Linked DNA regions of Homo sapiens: regions 1 and 3 are each linked to region 2. The links are contacts of gene promoters, found by promoter capture Hi-C in blood cells and fetal thymus (Javierre and others, 2016). All regions are on one chromosome and are shown on one strand. The core of a region is centred on a gene start or on the middle of the fragment in contact, and the rest is flanking DNA. Distances in the headings are between cores, read along the strand shown. Region 1 holds the start of SGCE (sarcoglycan epsilon). Region 2 holds the start of PON2 (paraoxonase 2). Region 3 has its middle 40 kb from the start of CASD1.

What was found. The method cuts DNA at HindIII sites, captures the fragments that hold promoters and counts their contacts. A CHiCAGO score of 5 or more calls a contact.
Region 1: a contact is called between the fragment with the promoter of SGCE here and the fragment with the promoter of PON2 in region 2, in 1 of 17 cell types (naive B cells). The highest score is 7.7, in naive B cells.
Region 3: a contact is called between a fragment that was not itself captured here and the fragment with the promoter of PON2 in region 2, in 2 of 17 cell types (M0 macrophages and total CD4 T cells). The highest score is 5.8, in M0 macrophages.

What each region holds. Positions count from the first base shown.
Region 1 is chr7:94,654,554-94,657,872 of GRCh38, forward strand. It overlaps SGCE (sarcoglycan epsilon), which reads right to left and starts at 1,580. Exons shown (of 11, transcript NM_003919.3): 1 at 1,437-1,580. The coding sequence starts at 1,545. PEG10 (paternally expressed 10) reads left to right here and starts at 1,772. Exons shown (of 2, transcript NM_001172437.2): 1 at 1,772-2,038. The coding sequence starts at 2,034. RefSeq lists enhancers at 928-1,705, 2,975-3,024. The HindIII fragment of the contact is 19,954 bases long and covers 1-3,319 here.
Region 2 is chr7:95,433,258-95,436,818 of GRCh38, forward strand. PON2 (paraoxonase 2) reads right to left here and starts at 1,771. Exons shown (of 9, transcript NM_000305.3): 1 at 1,621-1,771. The coding sequence starts at 1,694. RefSeq lists a silencer at 1,454-1,883 and an enhancer at 1,558-2,128. The HindIII fragment of the contact is 3,363 bases long and covers 1-2,736 here.
Region 3 is chr7:94,468,326-94,471,854 of GRCh38, forward strand. No RefSeq gene overlaps it. Among named protein-coding and RNA genes, the nearest start is that of CASD1, 40 kb to the right of the region's middle. The HindIII fragment of the contact is 3,609 bases long and covers 1-3,529 here.

The sequences.
Region 1 (3,319 bases), core at 330-2,829, 780 kb before region 2:
GTGTTTACCCAACTTCCTAGGGAAATGTCTTTGTTAAAAAGCTGCATTTCATTCATTCATATTCCGGATAGTGGGCATTTTCTAATAAAAAGTAAAATCTCAGTAAATGGGCTACAGTTTTGTTTATTCCTAGAAAGGCTCTCTTTTAAAGTGCGGTGTCTGCAACGTTGTTATGACAATAAGTCAAATTCTTATTGATATTCCAAGTATAAAATAATCCGTAGCAATGTTACTAAAATGTGCTCAATTTTGCTCTTCAAATATGAAAGCGTTTCATCTGTGTTTCAGAAACCTAACTCAGCTGTAGACAATTTGGTTTTCCCTTTTAACTTAAACTTGTTTTACTAAGATCATCAACAGATTGTCAGTTTCCCAAGCACCTGACACTGAGGCGCTTAGATGGGAATCCGCGTTAAGGTTTTATTTAGCATCCTTCCTCATCAGAATTTTAGCGTCTTATCAGCCACTGCAATTTTCCCTGACATAAAATATATATGTTCATAGTACAAATGCACGCAAATATTTGTGGCCGAATCTCGGCAACCCGCTGGAAAGGATTAAACGTGCGGTTGCCGTGACTAAACGCATTCATTCACCCTACAAGATTTAGGAAAATGTAACGTTGCAAGGGAAGCAAGGTCTCTGTGTAAACCTCGTAATCGCCACCAAAAGTCGGTAGCTGGGAGCCTTCAAAGCCCGCCAAACACACTGGAAGCATCCACAGCTGTTTTAAATTGGTTTTGGTTTCTGGAAATAGCGCACTCGGTACGGCAGCATCTCTGGCCTCCAGCCGGGGTTAACCCTGACCTGAACGCCCTGTTTAGCTCCCAGCATTTCATGATTCCGCTTCCCTGCTCCGTAAAACCGAAGAAAACCGAGATTTCCGTCACCGAGAAATGCACTTAGCAAGAGGGGGAAATTCGGTGTTTTAAATGTCACATTTTTGTGTTCTCTACCACTATCAAGAAAAGGAAAAAAGATGTGTTTGTGTAGCGGGGACGCAGCTTGACACCCATTTCCTTTGGCTCGCATCGCGGTCGCAGAGCCCAATCGCGGGGAAACGGGCCCCCCAGAAAAACAGGCAACGACCCCCAGCTCTTTGCTACAGGGATCGGGAGAGGACTACCCTGGGGCTGGGCGGGGAGGGGGATGTTGGGAACAGGAATTGGAGATGGAATTTCTGCGCCCGCAGAGCAGGGAGGGGCCCGCGGGGGCGCGGAGAGGAAAAAAAGGCCAGGGGTCAAGCCTGGGGAGAGAGAAGCTGGGCCGGGGAAATGGGGTACAGGGTGTACTGAAGGAGGGGTACGGTGGGGTCCGGGACAGAAAGAGAGGCTGGTGCCCAAAGGGCGCGCTCAGGCGCCCGGAACCCGAGCGGGGGAGGGGGAGGCGGCGGCCTGTTGGCCCCGGGACCTCCACGTCGCGCGCAGGCCACTAACCTGTCAGCAAGAATGTGCCAGTGGTCGCGGGGCTCATCCTGCGTGTCCCCCGACCCTGTCCCGTCCAAGCACAGGGGTCTCCCAGCTCCCACCACCGGGGCAATTGCATTCTTGGCCTGGCTAGGCCGTCCGTCCTCGATTCTCCCCTCCCCTCCCTTTCTTCTTCCCTCCCAGCTTGGCCAGTTCAGCATCAGCATCCCGCACCCCCTCGGTAATCCCGTACTCCCTCTAGCGGCGGGCCACTGCAGCGTGGCCACCGCCCCCACCCCCATCCCCCATCCCCGCACCCCCCTCCACCCCCTAGCCCGCGGAGCACGCTGGGATTTGGCGCCCCCCTCCTCGGTGCAACCTATATAAGGCTCACAGTCTGCGCTCCTGGTACACGCGCTTCAACTTCGGTTGGTGTGTGTCGAAGAAACCTGACTGCGCCCTGAGGAGAACAGCGGAGAAGGTCCACCGAGCCTGGCGAAAGGTCCGCTGAGCGGGCTGTCGTCCGGAGCCACTCCGGGCTGCGGAGCACCCAGTGGAGACCGCGCCTGGCTCAGGTGTGGGACCCCATCCTTCCTGTCTTCGCAGAGGAGTCCTCGCGTGGTGAGTATGCGGTGAGGACGTTTTTTTTTTAAAGATCACGTTCATTCCCCGTGCTTATCGGGAGCTGCGGGAGATGGAGTAGCACCCCAGAATGTCTCCACGCAAAACTTGTCACGCCTTCACTGGCTGTACCCCAAAACAAATGGGGAAACCAAGCCTTAAAGGCTTGGGTTTCCAGGACCAAGTCCAGATACGGGCTGTAGACAGAGATGAGCTGCGGACAGTGATGAGCTGCAGACGGTCAGGAGCTATAGATCGATTTGCAATTTGCTCTTCAAATGCGCTACCAAGTGCCATGCTTTACAAACAGATAAGCGCTTCAAATGCGCTACAAACTGGCGCTTCAGATGCGCTACAAGCACGCTTCACGCGGGCGACAAACTGATGGGAGCTACAACTGGCGCTTCATTGCGCTATAAACTGATGGGCGCTTTATGTGCCACAAACTGACGGATGGGCGCTTCAGTGGCGCTACAATCCAGAACGAGGAGCAGCGATATAGGAGCTGCAGACAGAAAACTGAATTGCGCTTTACATGCGCTGCAAAATCTGAGCTGCAGAAGAGTAGCACTACAAAAAACGCTACAAAAACGATGCGATTAGCCAGCCCGACAACAGCGCTTCATTGCGCTGCGAGGCACATGAACTGCAGAGGTACATGAGCTGCGGAACAATTCACACCTAAGATGCACTACAAAGTGGTAAGAGCTGCAGAGGTACAGGAGCTGCAGACCGTTTGCGCTACAAATAAAGCAGCCGTAGTGGGACATGAGCTGCGGAGTACAATTCCTCTGTTTTCTTGGAGCAGGACCCCACCCTTTCACCTTTTGGAATGGCTCCCACTCTATTTTTCTGCAGGACGGTTCTCGCATGATGGTGCTGGTAGACAAAATGGAGCCCCGGGCAAAAATTAGTGTTTAACATTCTGCCCACACCATTCCCGCTATAGCAGTGGAGTGGAGGGGCACTGATTGGAGTGGAAATGGGAATCTTTTGGTGATGGCAGAGCAGGCTGCCTGCCTACTTGTGCTTGATTGAAGTGGCGGTGTAGTTGTGGTGGCGCGAATCAGCGTCCAGCAACAGTTTGTGGAAACTGTGGGTTTGCTGAGTATGGCGGGGGAATTGGATCTGTGGATTGCTCTTGCTGCATGAAATGAATCTGGCTTTGGTGACTGGTGGGAGGGGTTTGGGAGGGGGGATTCTGGCGGCGGGGGGGGGGGGTGTGCAGATACTCTGCAGCCCTGTAGCAGCCAGTCTCAGGCCTGCCCCGCCCATCCTAGTGTGCCTTCTCT
Region 2 (3,561 bases), core at 521-3,020:
TTATTTATTTATTTATTCATTTTGTAGAGGTGGGATCTTGCTATGTTGCCCAGGCCTGTCACTAACTCCTGGGCTCAAGCAATCTTCTGGCTTAGGCCTCCAACAGTGCTGGGATTACAGGTGTGAGCTGTAGATTCTGATCCAGAACAGCTGAATCAGAATCTTTGGTGGTGCCACTCAGACACCAGCCCTCCAGGAGATTCTAATGTACAGAGAACCATTGCTCTCCTCCAATCCCCCCTTCCAGGCTTATCTCTATAAAACACAACTAGTTATATTAAGTTCTTGTTGAAAAGCAAAACCCACCAATATTTCCCTTTTGAAGCACTATTGGGCCTATGAAAGTGGGGCCCCATTTTTCAACTTATATTTAATGGCCTCAAAACCTATCCTTCCCACCACCCTACTATTCTCATCTCCTGACTTTATGCTCCCTTCAAATTGGCCCATTTGCTAGTCTTCCAACTTCCCACCTTAGCCCCTTTGCTCCTGCTGCACTATACATTTGGCATGGGCCCCTTCATGCTCATATGTGTTGCACCCACCCTTCAAGGTCAGGTCGAATGTCTCTTCCTCCCTCTAGAACTCCACCCTCAGGGGATGGAATCTTTCCTCTTTAAGCCTATGCGGTTCATTTGTGTCTGTCCTTAGAACATCCTAATTTATACATTTACTGTATTTTAATTCTCTCTTCCCCTGTATCAAACTCCATAAGGGTCGTACTCTACTATAGAAGCCTAAGAGAGAACATTACACATAGCAGGTGCTCAGTCTTTCTGGAACTCTTTTGCATGAGGCCTATAAAATTTTGGTTGAGGCAGGGCAGAACAGCTCACACCTGTAATCCCAGCACTGTGGGGAGGCCTAGGCTGGAGGATTGCTTGAGTGCAAGAGTTAGGGAACAGCCTGGGCAATACAGCAAGACCCCATCTCTACAAAAAATAAAATAAACAAAAAACAAACGTTGAGTTGGTAATTTATAAACGATGATGTCTACCTACCAGAGATTTTCATTAAAACTAAAATGCGAGATGGAATAGTGTCTGCGCTGTCTGGCATTCTGGCTTCAGGCTTCCCTGGTGAATAAATAGGAAGTAAGAACAGTAGCTGAATATTTCAAGTGTCTTTGATCTACAGCTGAAGAGTTTCTCAAACTATGCAGAAATGGGTGGAGAACAACTTTATTAAAGACGGGTCTGGTTTGGGCAACAAGGAGAAACAGCACCAATGACCTGAAATAAATCTTCATAGTTAAGGTTTCAATGCATGAGTAGTCATTTTGTTTTCAATTTAAACCACTAGTTTGGCCCTTGGGTAATTGCAAAGCATTCTCTTGTCAGCCTAAGCAGAAGAGAACTTTGTTAGCAGCAAGGGCTTATAAACTTTCAAGAAAGTGTCGCGATTCACTCCAAACTTTGCTAGTTTTTTCACTAGAAGCGGAGAGTCGGGGTGATGGGGGTTCAACTAGCTGGGGGAGGGACAGCATTCAAAAATTCTCCACCCCCGGCCGCAGGGCCAGGTCCCGCAGGAATCCCTCCCCCAGCCTGCGCCCTCCCCGCACCACGCGGCCACCCCGAGCCTGGGGACCGCCGAGGAGGGGCGCGCGGGAGTCCCACCTACCTGAGTGCCAGAAGCCTCTCGCCCAGGAGCGCCAGCGCGATCCCCAGCAAGCCCACAGCCACCAGCCGCCCCATGGCGCGGGAGCCGGGCGCGCTGCCTCGCTCCGGCCTGGCCAGCAGCTCCGTGGGCGGTGCCATCTTCCCGGCTCGATGGTGCCGGCCGCGCTCCGCCCCGTCCTCCGCCTAGGCCGAGTCCCTGCGTCGGGGCCGCGGAGGCTCCGCCCTGGGCCTGGCCCTGGTCTTTGTCCTCACAAACCTATTTCCCCAGATACCTTCGGGACGGCCCGGACACGCCTTACATTAGGCTCATGATGTGAAACTTTGAATTCCTTCACTTCCTTTTTCAAACAACCCACCCGAAACCCTCTAGCAGCCCGCATACCTTTCTCGTTTCCCTAGTCTTCAAACACATTTCTCACTCGCTATTCCAGTGAGAAACTTACATAGAAAGCAGCTTTTGGGGATGGGGGTCGGTGGCCAAGGGAGGGAAAGTAACGGGATGCGTCGTGTAAATATTTCACGTTGGAATCACTACTTTTTATAACAGGACGTAGTTGCGAATAAATAAACATCCTGTGCCTCGTAATACTTTTTTTTTTTTTTTTTAACAGGGTCTCGCTGTGTTGCCTAGGCTGGAGTACATTGGCACAATCATAGCTCACTGCAGTCTGGACCTCCCGGACTCAAGGGACCCTCCAGCCTCAGCCTCCTGAGTAGCTGGGACCGCAGGCACGTACCGTTACACCTAGCTAAGTGTGTGTAAGTTGTGTGTGTGTCTGTGTGTGTGTGTGTGGAGACCGAGTCTTGCTGTGTTGCCCAGGTTGGTCTCAAACTCCTGGACTCAAGCCATCCTCCTGCCTCAGCCTCCCAAAGTGCTAGAATTACAGGAATGAGCCACCATGCCCAGCCTCTATTAATACTTCCAGACTACAGACTTAAGGACTTAGACACGTCTTTTTCATCCAAACTCAAAGGGAAGAAGTGTAGTTTTTTTCTTTTCCGTTTTTACTCTAACAACCGTAACATGAAGGAATAATTTAAAATACAATTTTAAAAGTAAAATGAAATTTACCCATCAAGATTGATACCATTACAATAAATGAGTACATCTGAAATAAGCTTCTAATGGTTTTCGGTATTTAATTGCCACCCTACAATATGTAGGCAGAAATGGTCACACTTGACAATTTTCAACAAATATCAGTTTTATAAAGAACCAGTAAATAAAAGTGGATGCCAATTTCCCACCTGCCTCTCACCAAAAAAAAAAAAAAAAAAAAAAAGCACAAACACCTCTCTCCCTGTGTGTGTGTGTATCTCTGCTTCAGTCCTAAGGATATTGGATTATACTGGATGGTAGAAAGAGAAGTAAAAAGTTGTCCTTTGAAAGCCCATGAGGCATTACCTTTTTTGTGTCGTGGACCCTTCTGGCAGTGGTGAGCCTGTGGATAACTTCTTAGAATAATGTTTATAAATGCTTACAATAAAATGCATAAATTTTCTCTGTGCGGTTCATGAAAAAAAGAAAGAAGAAAAAAAAATTTTAAATAAATGAATAAAATGTATAGATTGCAAAGAAAATCAATTACATTGTAAGGAAAAAAAATAGCTGAGAGCAGTCTGAGCTTTGTGAGGTATGCAAAATTTATCAGGCCCAGAGCGACATGAGTATGGGACTTCAGTCACGCCCCAATACCCATGCCTGGGGACAGTTGTTTAAAGACATTTTGTTCCCGAGTAGCTGTCCCACCCATTATCTTCATATTCCTGGAATTTATGATACAAAGAACAAAGTATAACCAATCCACAGCTTATGTTATTTTAACGCAAGGAATTTAGGAACTGCCTCTTCCTTCCCCTTAAAAATCTATGTGTAACTGCTGCTAATCAGAGTGTATATTTAGGGAAACTTGAATCTATACTCCTGGGTTGCAGTACTCAA
Region 3 (3,529 bases), core at 538-3,037, 960 kb before region 2:
AAATGTTCATTTTTCATGCAGATTATAATAAAATGTTAAGCCTCTTGATAATTGTCAAAGTATCAATGATAGTGAATAGGCAAAAATTATTTCCTGTTCTGATATGTAATAGCTATACTTACAGTTTGCAAAACCTTAGACAAGGGTAAGAAAGAGAAAAATAATTAGTCAATTTTTACTTTTGTTGTGACAGGGTCTCACTCTGTCACCCAGGATTGAGTATAGCGGTGTGATCTCAGCTCACTGCAACCTCTGCCTCCCTGGCTCAAGTGATCCTCCCACCTCATCCTCCTGAATAGCTGGAATCACAGGCACACACTGGCTAATTTTTTGTATTTCTGGTAGACATGAGGTTTCACCTTGTTGTCCAGGCTGGTCTCAAACTCCTGAGCTAGAGCAATCCACCTGTCTCGGCCTCCCAAAATCCTGGGACTACAGATGTGAGCCACTGTGCCCAGCCAATCATTACTTTTAAAATAATGTTTAGCAGAAGCAGCATCTTGATAGTCATCAACAGCAATATCAATAAATATTTTATGTGCTATAATATTTTTGGTTAGAAGTAAGATTAATAAAATAATTCAATTCTCAATAAAGGTCTTATTTAGATAAAATGTAGCAAGTAATTTAACTGTATTAGAGACCTTTTAAAAAGAACTGGGCCACTCAAATTGTCATTCCTTAATTTTTTTTTACATTCTAAGATAAAAATATAATAAACTAAATGCCAATAGTAGCTGATATATTAACAATGGAGCACAATATTAGTACAATAAAATTTTTTCTTTAATACATTACACATCACATATGTTGAGGTCCTTTCTATGCTGCACAAAGAAATCTAGCCTGCATTTACAATTTTAAATTATTATATTCTTGTGTAAATTTTATAGTTGATTTATAACTTGGGATTTATTTGATGTCAAGCCTTCTGGTCACAAATGAAACTCTAAATTGAAGCACCATAGAAGCATCTGATTAAAAAAATTACTCACTGCTTTGACGGAATTATATTACAGAAGTATATTGCAGCAAAAAGTAGGGATTTTCTTGTATGTTTTTCCAAATAATTGGGAAAACTCTGCTTGCAGCTATTTCAGAAATGCTCATATCAGAGCAGTTCTTGCCCAAGTTAACTATAAAATGCATGAAACAATAGTTTGACAACATTCAAGAGCACTTCCAGCAGACAGGACTTGAGAAGCAGCAGTCCGGGAGAGAAGGAAAACACACTGAAGTGAGATTCTGCCCTGTATTTCCCTTCAAGACATCTGCAAATTTGCATCTGAGAGAAACAGAGATTAAAAAGAAAGACAAACCTGGCTTACGACACTCTCACTGGGCTGAAGAAACAGAGTTTGGGGGTGAGGGCATGTAATAGAGTTAAAATTTGGGGAAGAAAACACATAAAAGTAAGCGTGAAATTCTGCATGCAATTTCCTTGCAAGGGGTGGCCATCCCCAAAACTGCATATACACAAAGCAAGACTCCTAAACATCTAGCAGAAAGTACCAGTATGCCAAAGAGCTAAGCAAAGATTTTAGCAGTATGGTAGTACCAAGGGCATATAGATTATAATTCAGGGCTCACAAAAGTAGAGGGGACCCAGGAAACACCCCCATGATTTCACATGAGACCATAAAAAGGTTATACCTTAGAAGTAAAAAATAAGGAATAAAGGCAAATTAAAACTAGACCAGTTCCATCACAGTATAGAATCCACTCTTGGAATCCACTCTTGACTAGATAAAAGTGACCTGTTATATCTCTATCTACTTGCCAAAATGAAATTAAATTATCTTTGGGGAAAGATATCGTCATCTAAGGCCTGTATAATTTTTCATACAGAATCTCTAGTATTCCATCAAATATTGTTAGGCAAGATAAGAAATTGGAACATATAACAAAAAACTAGGAAAGATTTGACAATGAAATGGAAGTAAAGATGACCCAAATAGTGGAGCTATCATTAGAGACCTCAAAATAACATTATGGCCAGGTGTTGCGGCTCATGCCTGTAATCCCAGTGCTTTGGGAGACTGAGGCAAAAGGATTGCTTGAGCCCAGGAGTTTGAGACTGGCCTGGGCAACATAGTGAGACTTTGTTTCTACAAACAATAATAAACTAATAATAATGTTTAATATGTTCATGAAAATTGAGAAAAGAATGGAGAATTCATAAGAAACAAGGAATCTACTAAATAAAATAAAGTGGAAATTGTAGAAGTTGAAAAGATAACTGAAATAAGAATCTAATACTTGGATTTAAAAGCAGATAAGGCAAATAATAAAAACATACATCTACATAAAGACATGTACGCAAATGTTAATAACAGCATTATTCAAAATAGCCCAAAACTGGTAGTAATCCAAATGCCCATCAGCTGATGAATGGATGAACACATGAGGTATAGGCACACAATAAAATACTATTCAGCAACGAAAAAGAGTAGACTGCTCATGTATTCAACAACATAGATGAACCTCAAAAAAATGTTAAGTGAAAGAAGACCGACACAAATGGCTATATAGTGTACCATTCTATTAACAGAAAATTTCTAGAAAAGGTAAACTTATACACACAGAAGTAGATCCACAGTTGCCTAGGGCTATGGGTGGGAGTGGAAATTAACAACAAATGGGCACAAATAAATTTTAGGGGGTGATGGAAATGTTCTAAAACAGAATTGAGGTAATTTTACACAAATACACAAATTTACCAAAATTTATCACATTGTACACTTATATTTGGTTAATTTATGCTATGTAAAATTATAAATTATATCTCAATATACGTTTTTTTAACTTTAGCTGACTCCTAAATGATGCACTTGCCAGACAAAATCGAGATAAAGATTCTTAACAATTAACTGTGATTTTAGCTGCCACACAAGAGACAGCGTTTGATGCTTGAGTCCACCCGAGTTTAATATCTGAAAAAAAAATCAGAACTTTTGGAAGACTATAAAAGAATGCACAATATAACCCTGACAGTGCCCAGGGTATAGAAATTACTGAATATATTTTTAAAACAGGAAGTATTACTTTTCTCGACAGAAAAGATAGAATATTGTTATACTAATGTTGGTAAATATATACACCAACCCTGGATGATACAGAAGTTGGAATTAGTAGGCAAAGATTTTAAAGTAGCTGTTATAACTATGGTCAGTGAAATAAGGAAAAATATGTTAGCAATAAATAAAATAATAGGAAATCTCAGTAAAGATAAATAAAATATGAAATATTTTGAAATATTTATTAAAATAAGCTAACGAATTCTAAAACTAAAAAATAAAATGTCTGAAATTGTAAAAAGAATCATTATATAGGTTTAGCAGCAAAATAGAGATGACAGAGCAACTAGTCAGTGAACTTGATAATACAATAGAAATAGTCCAATCTGAAGAATAGACAAAAAAATTAAAAAGATTGGAAGAAAATGAGCAGAGTCTCAGAGAACTCTAAGACAATATCAAAAGACATAACATATGTATAATTGGAATCACAGAATGACAGGAAAGAATGT